Linked DNA regions of Homo sapiens: region 2 is linked to region 1. Evidence: promoter capture Hi-C in 16 types of primary human blood cells and fetal thymus (Javierre and others, 2016). All regions are on one chromosome and are shown on one strand. The core of a region is centred on a gene start or on the middle of the fragment in contact, and the rest is flanking DNA. Distances in the headings are between cores, read along the strand shown.

Region 1 (2,988 bases), core at 154-2,653:
TGTATCATCCAGAATACCAACTCAATACAGCCCTCCACTGTGAAACTGAATGCCTTCTGGGGTACAGCATGAAACCGTTTTAGACAGTGCATGCCAGTGCACCTTGAAACAGTGTCCATCTGTAATGAAATCTGTAAACGGGAAACTTGGGCCAATTCATTGTTTAAAGCAGATCTACTGGCTCATACCTTTCTCTAGGAAACAATAAGTGAACAAGAAGTAACCTCAGAAGAAGAAAGAACTTTGGGAGAATGCACTGAGAAAGGCCAGACTGAGTCCCCTTGGATGAAGTTAATTAAGAAACAAACATGACAGGATATTGCAATCAAAACCAAGGAATGCAGTGAGGACAGGTTTCTCAGTTGCCCAGAGGAGAAAACATAGTTCCTTCTGAACTAAAATTAGAAAGCCGCTGGCAAGGAAACATAAGAAGCATGGATAAGAGGCTGAAAACCGTAAGTCAGCAATGGGGATGGAGGTGGGTACAGGAAGAGAGCGAGTATCTATTTTGTTTTATTTCTTCTGTAATTCCTTAAGATTGTTTGCGCCTGAGCTTTGGGACTGCAGTAGTCTCCCCTACGGGGCGTCAAGTAACAGGCTGGGAGCTCTGGCAAGAAGTTCTCAAACTTCTCACAATTCTGCTAAGAGCTTGCAGATATCTAGCTGGAAGATCAAGGATCCAAGTAAAAACATTAAAGGAAGGTTTTTGCCCACTCCCCGGTGAGAGGTCATCTGCCCAGGGAGTGCTCTCGTGTCCTGACACCATCGCCCGACTGGGGATATATCAGTAACCGGGCTGTCGTCGATGCCGAGCAGTGCCCATCTGGTTGGCAGCGTCCGGGTCTCAAGCGTTCCCTCGCCCCTCTCTGTTCTCCGGGGAGCCCTGAATCGCTGGTGGGCATCTACAGTTAAGAGTGCAGGAAGGCCTCTCAGACACGGGGCGAACACAAGGGCTGTTGGCTGCCTCCTCAGAGCCGACCCAGGCATAGTTCGCCCAGGCGGGAGAGCGGCGTTGAAGTGGGTCGGCACCCGTCCGAGGGGTGCCAGGCCACCCCGGTGCCCGCTCCTCTCGCCGGCCCCCGGAAGCGCCGCCCTCCCGCCCGGCGGGCTCCGAGGGGGCGGGGAGTCGAACGCCCCCTTCCGGGTGCCTCCGCCCGGCTGGCCAGCCCCGCTCCTCCTCCGGGCGGGAATCCTCCCTCCCCCGCCCCTCCTGAAGCCGGGCCCCGACGCCAGACCCAGCCCCAGGGGGGAACCCCCGGCCTCGGCTCCCTCTCCCCGCGGCCTCTGCCCGTCTTCCTGACCCTTGGGGGCCGGGAAGACCCCGCCGGCAGCGGCCGGGACCCACCGCTCATTACGACATCTTCCTCCCTGGCCTCCGCCGCCTCCGCCGCCACCGAGAGCCTGACACCGCCCGCCAAGCAACCGCCAATCCCGGAGCCCGCCACCGCCCGAGCGACGGCAGCCTTCACCAATAAGCGCTTGGAACATTGGGGACCGACAGCACTATTAACCAATCAACCAGAGGCGTCTAGAGCGACGTTGATTTGACCAATAGGTCTGTGCAATGTCACTGATGGACGGTAGAGCGCACCAACCGAAAGCCAATTGAATAATGAGTGACATGTGCATCAGCCAATTGGAGGGAGGCAAAGTCCCGCCCGCTGGGTGGTTGATGTACAGCAACAGGAAGCTGGAAGGGGAGGGGCTTAGCCGAAGAGTGCTTTTGTATTGGTCGAGGTTGACCTTCCACCCACCTCTAACCCAGAGGATGAATGATAGATCTGCCCTGAAGCCAATCAGAAGTCCTTAGGGTGAGGCCCACAAATGCCCCAGAAATAGCATATACATTGCGCCCTAAGTCCAGTCTCGCCCAGGTGTGGCAGGAGCTTTTACCTGCTCTTCGGCAGTAGCCGGCTGCCACTCAACCCCATGCCTGGTGAGTGGAAAGCCATCAACCTTTTATTTAGTCCCTCTCTCGTTGTCGCCTGGGGAGGGGCGACTTTGTACAGTGAGGCACTGGGGTCCGGCACCATAGTGGGAGTTGGGGTTGTTTACGCGACACTTCTAAGGGGATTTTCACAATCGGTTAAGCCCCCGTTAATCCTCACATGGTTATTGCGGCGACCCCCATAGCCCACGGTCCCAAACGTGTGCATCTGAATCATCCGAAGCTCTTTCTAAAGGCAGGCTCCCCTGGCCGCCTCTCCTAATCCGACTCGGTACTTCACGGGGCGTGCCTAGAATCTGCATTTTAGCAAGGGCCTCGCGTGGACAGAATTGCACGCTTGAGTTTGAGAAGTACTGCTTGGCCTCTGCCCCACTTACCCTTACCTTCTTGAGATGAGGTAAAGCACTTGGTAGGCACTAGGCGGGTAGGTTTATCTTTGCTCCCAAGTCTCTTCCGAGAACTTGGGAAGGCTGCCTAGCTTAGTGAGGGAATCCATTCTGGCTTCAGACCAGTCTGGGTTTGAAACCTACACATCCCACTAACTTAGGCAGGGTACCGAAACTCCCTGAGCTTCATGTCCTCATCAGTAAAACGAGGTTAATCACACCTACACCTTAGCGCGATGGCTTAAAAAAAAAAAAAAAAAAAACAAACAAAAAAAAACATAGTCCATCAAGAGAAATACATTTTGCATACAGACCAGTACACTGCTATTTGTATGAGAGTGTCATAAAGTTTCCGAAAACAATGCTTACTACTTGTGACGCACTGATAGTTTCTATGCTTATCCTATCCTATCTTATTCTCCTTCTTGTTGATCATGACTGGCAGTTTGAAAAACACTGCTAGAAAAGGTTGGTGTGATAATACAAAATGCAGAGCAGAATACCGGGTACACAGTAATTGCTGAATAAATGTTAATAGCCTCTTCCAGTCTTCTCCTCTCAGTGTTAGCCTTTGAAAAACAAGACTTTAGACAATAATACTCCTCTAGTAAAGATCCTTCATGGGATCCGTATCTCCTAGATAAAGCCCAAACT
Region 2 (3,103 bases), core at 509-3,008, 720 kb before region 1:
GTTTCTCCTCAGAATTTGAAACAATCGCGTGGAGTTTGAAAACTGCTCGGTCCCCCTTTTTACAGGCCATAAAGGGCGCACTGCTTTGCGGTCTCCGCTAGAAATTAGGGGCAGGGGTGGGAGGTGTACGTAGAAAGAAAAAAGCTTAGGGCTTCTTTTTTTTCCTCCCCTCTGTTGTGTTTTTTTTCTATTTTTTAGCTTATCTACACAATTTCATGAACCGTTTCCTGATTCCGATGCCCACTCCCTATCCCTCCCCTTTTACTGCTAGTTATGAAAGTTTCTCCTGCTGGCCACCTCTGCGGCTGCTCTCCCAGAAAACTGGTGGAGCCGGTGGCTGCGGCGCCTTTTCGCAGAGCAGCCGCTAGATGGCACCCTTGCTCCATGTGAAACTCCCTGGAGCGGCAGCTGCGGATGTCTGCTCCCGGCACCGCGCCTTGGTCGGCCCTGAATCCAGGAACTGAGTGCTACCAAAAGTCATGAATAATTTGTACCTAATAAAAAAAATAGGGCTCGTTATGGCCTTACCCCCATTTTATAGATTTCAGTTATAGTAGTGTTCCCCCATCTCCTCAAATGGTCAATTTTCTGAATTTTCCCCAAGAGGAGGGCTCAGTGATTCTCACCCAGTTGCTGTGTTCGGTGGGGCAACAAATGCGTGAAAACGGGGAATAATAGTAATAATAGGAATAATGGGTCCAAATCCAAAAGGAGAATTGATTCGAAACAACGAGATTTTCCGTGAAAGGAGGCGAAAGGAATGTCCCTGGATGCGGGTCAGCAGGTCAGGTGAGAGGGGCTAGCCGGCAAAAGAAGGTAGGATGGAGAGGAAGCTGCCCATCGGCTGGAGAGAAAATCACGTAAGCCAGCCCGAGACCCCCCAGTTTGTGTGTGTGGGGGAATGGAGCCATAGCTTTTGTGGGGATTCGGAGATGCCCAAAGCCGGCAGGGCGGCTTCGCACGGGCGCAAGCTCTGGAGCCTTTGTATGAGTCCAGGGCTGGGCTGGGCTCGCGCAGGGCGACCTAGGCACGGGGCAGGGGCTCCCCAGGGCAGCAGGGTGCGGGAAGGCTCGGATGTGGTCTCTGGATGCTTTGCGCGCTCCCAAAGAATGCGCGTTTTCCCATGGGCGCGAAGGCGGGCGCGGCGTCAGGACGCAGGAGCTCTGTTCTCCCTGGGTTCCTGGGCTTCCAGGTGAGAGGTGCGGCTTCAGTGCGCCTTGGCCCTGGCCGCAGGCAAACCTGGGGGCGCCGGTCCTTTCCTCATTGAGCAGCTGGAGGTCTGGACTCCGGGCACTTTCGTTCTGAGACCCGCACCCTGGTTGTTCACAGCCCCTTGCATTCCAAATCTCCTGTGTCCTCCCGGCCCCGCCGGATCCCTGCCTTCCATCCGACAAACCTGCGCCAGCAATAGATACTCCCACCCCCTCAAAATCACCCCAGCTGCAGCCTCTCCTCTCCCCCACCAGGACTTAGTGCAAGGAGGTAAGCGGAGTTTCTCCTCAACTTGAGTTTCTCTAATAAATCTGCGCTCCGCTGGGTGTTTATAAATTGTCTCCTCGCTCTTTCGTTTTTTTTTTTTTTTTTTCCTATAACAGAAACATTTTCCTTCCATCAGGAATTTCTGGCACGGTGTAGAGATGATTTAGAACAAGCCATTGAATTTGTACCTCGCCGGTGAGTTTTCAAATAATGACCATAAAATCCTCTGCACTTGATAAAAATGTTTGCTTCGGCAACAATTTAACTCGGCCCTCCGTTGCCTCACGGTCCCCTCAGCCACGCGCTGAAAATTCAAAGCCCTGGTTCTCTCCATTCCTCCTCTTTTCCTTTATCTCTCTCCCGCTTCTAGCCCCTCTCTCATTCTCTAGGTTCACTTTTGAAGAACCAAATGACCTCACTGGTAAGGTTCCCTTTGGAAAAGTGATAGTTTCATTTTTACAAATGTTGGGGTGTATGGGGTCCCCAAAAGGTGCCCGTCAAAAAAACAAACCACTGTTTCCTGAATAAACAATGGATTGAATATATTTGTAAAGCCTCCACTTTTGTTGCTCAAAATTTTCTTTCTGTCTCTCATTCCTCTCCCTTGCCAATCTACTGCTACAGGAGGCTACTGGTTCTGACCCTCAGACTGGGGCCTTCTAAAGCCTGGCCACCACCATCGTGAAGCCGGGTAGGCAGGGAACGCAGTGGCCACAGAGTGTGGCACCCAGTCAGCTTGTTCCAGCTTTCCGTGTTCAGACCTCTGGTTCCCAGGTCTGCAGGGAGAGCCAGGTTTAACTACAGGCTCCCCAAGGCGAAAGGAGAGAAAATGGGAGACTCAGCAACCTTGCTTTATCTGAATTCCACACCCAAGTCAGTTTAGGTGGTGACAGTGGCTCAAAAGGTCTTGGGGACACTGAGGACTAATAGATGCCCTCCCAACACATACTCTGCAGGCACTGCCTAGGGTGGCTGAGAGCATAGGACAGCGGACACGAAGGCCAGGTGCCAGGGCCTGATACCCAACCTTCTTTCCTTTTGATGCAGTGATGGGCTCAGTGGTCCCCTCTCACCCTTAGGCACTGCAGAAGGTGTGGGGGTCGGCCTGGGAAGGTTGGGAGCTATTAATAATTGGGCTTGGCTACTGGGTCCCAAGGCCTGGGTGCAAGTGTCGGGTAGCCCATTGGGGCTTCATCCCTCTGATGGCATCAGGCCCTCTCCCTTCATGCAAAGTCTGCCCTCAAAAGTGCTGATGGGCTGAAGGGCCTTCAGGAGACCCCCTTTTCAGCAAGCAGAGAGTGCACAAACCTGCAGAATCGGCAGTGGCAGCTCGAACTTTGCTCTGTGCTTCAACCACTGCTCATTAACCAGAAAGTTTCTTCTTCCCTCCCGTTCCCTCCTCAAGATCTCCCAGATCCCTGTTTCACAGAAAATTTTTGCTTATTTGTTTAATGAGAGGAAGTTTTGTGACTGGCCAGGGCAGGGCAGAGAGGGCAGGGCAGAGAAGGGACCTTTTGGGGGCTCCAGAGAAGGGGTGGGGGCAGGTGCTTGCCAGGACGGAAGGAGGTGAAAATCTCAGAAAAGTCACCGTTTGTGCCAAAAAAAAATCCCCATAATCATTCTC

The links. Contacts are between HindIII fragments. The CHiCAGO score rates a contact against its expected background, and 5 or more counts as called.
Region 2: a contact is called between a fragment that was not itself captured here and the fragment with the promoter of SP2 in region 1, in 4 of 17 cell types (neutrophils, fetal thymus, non-activated CD4 T cells and 1 more). The highest score is 9.7, in neutrophils.

Annotation. Positions count from the first base shown.
Region 1 is chr17:47,894,651-47,897,638 of GRCh38, reverse strand. SP2 (Sp2 transcription factor) reads right to left here and starts at 1,403. Exons shown (of 7, transcript NM_003110.6): 1 at 1,346-1,403. The coding sequence starts at 1,352. It overlaps SP2-DT (SP2 divergent transcript), which reads left to right and starts at 1,823. Exons shown (of 3, transcript NR_135480.1): 1 at 1,823-1,936. RefSeq lists silencers at 904-1,333, 2,882-2,988. The HindIII fragment of the contact is 7,029 bases long and covers 1-2,988 here.
Region 2 is chr17:48,616,016-48,619,118 of GRCh38, reverse strand. No RefSeq gene overlaps it. Among named protein-coding and RNA genes, the nearest start is that of HOXB8, 2.3 kb to the right of the region's middle. RefSeq lists an enhancer at 1,086-1,609. The HindIII fragment of the contact is 3,223 bases long and covers 147-3,103 here.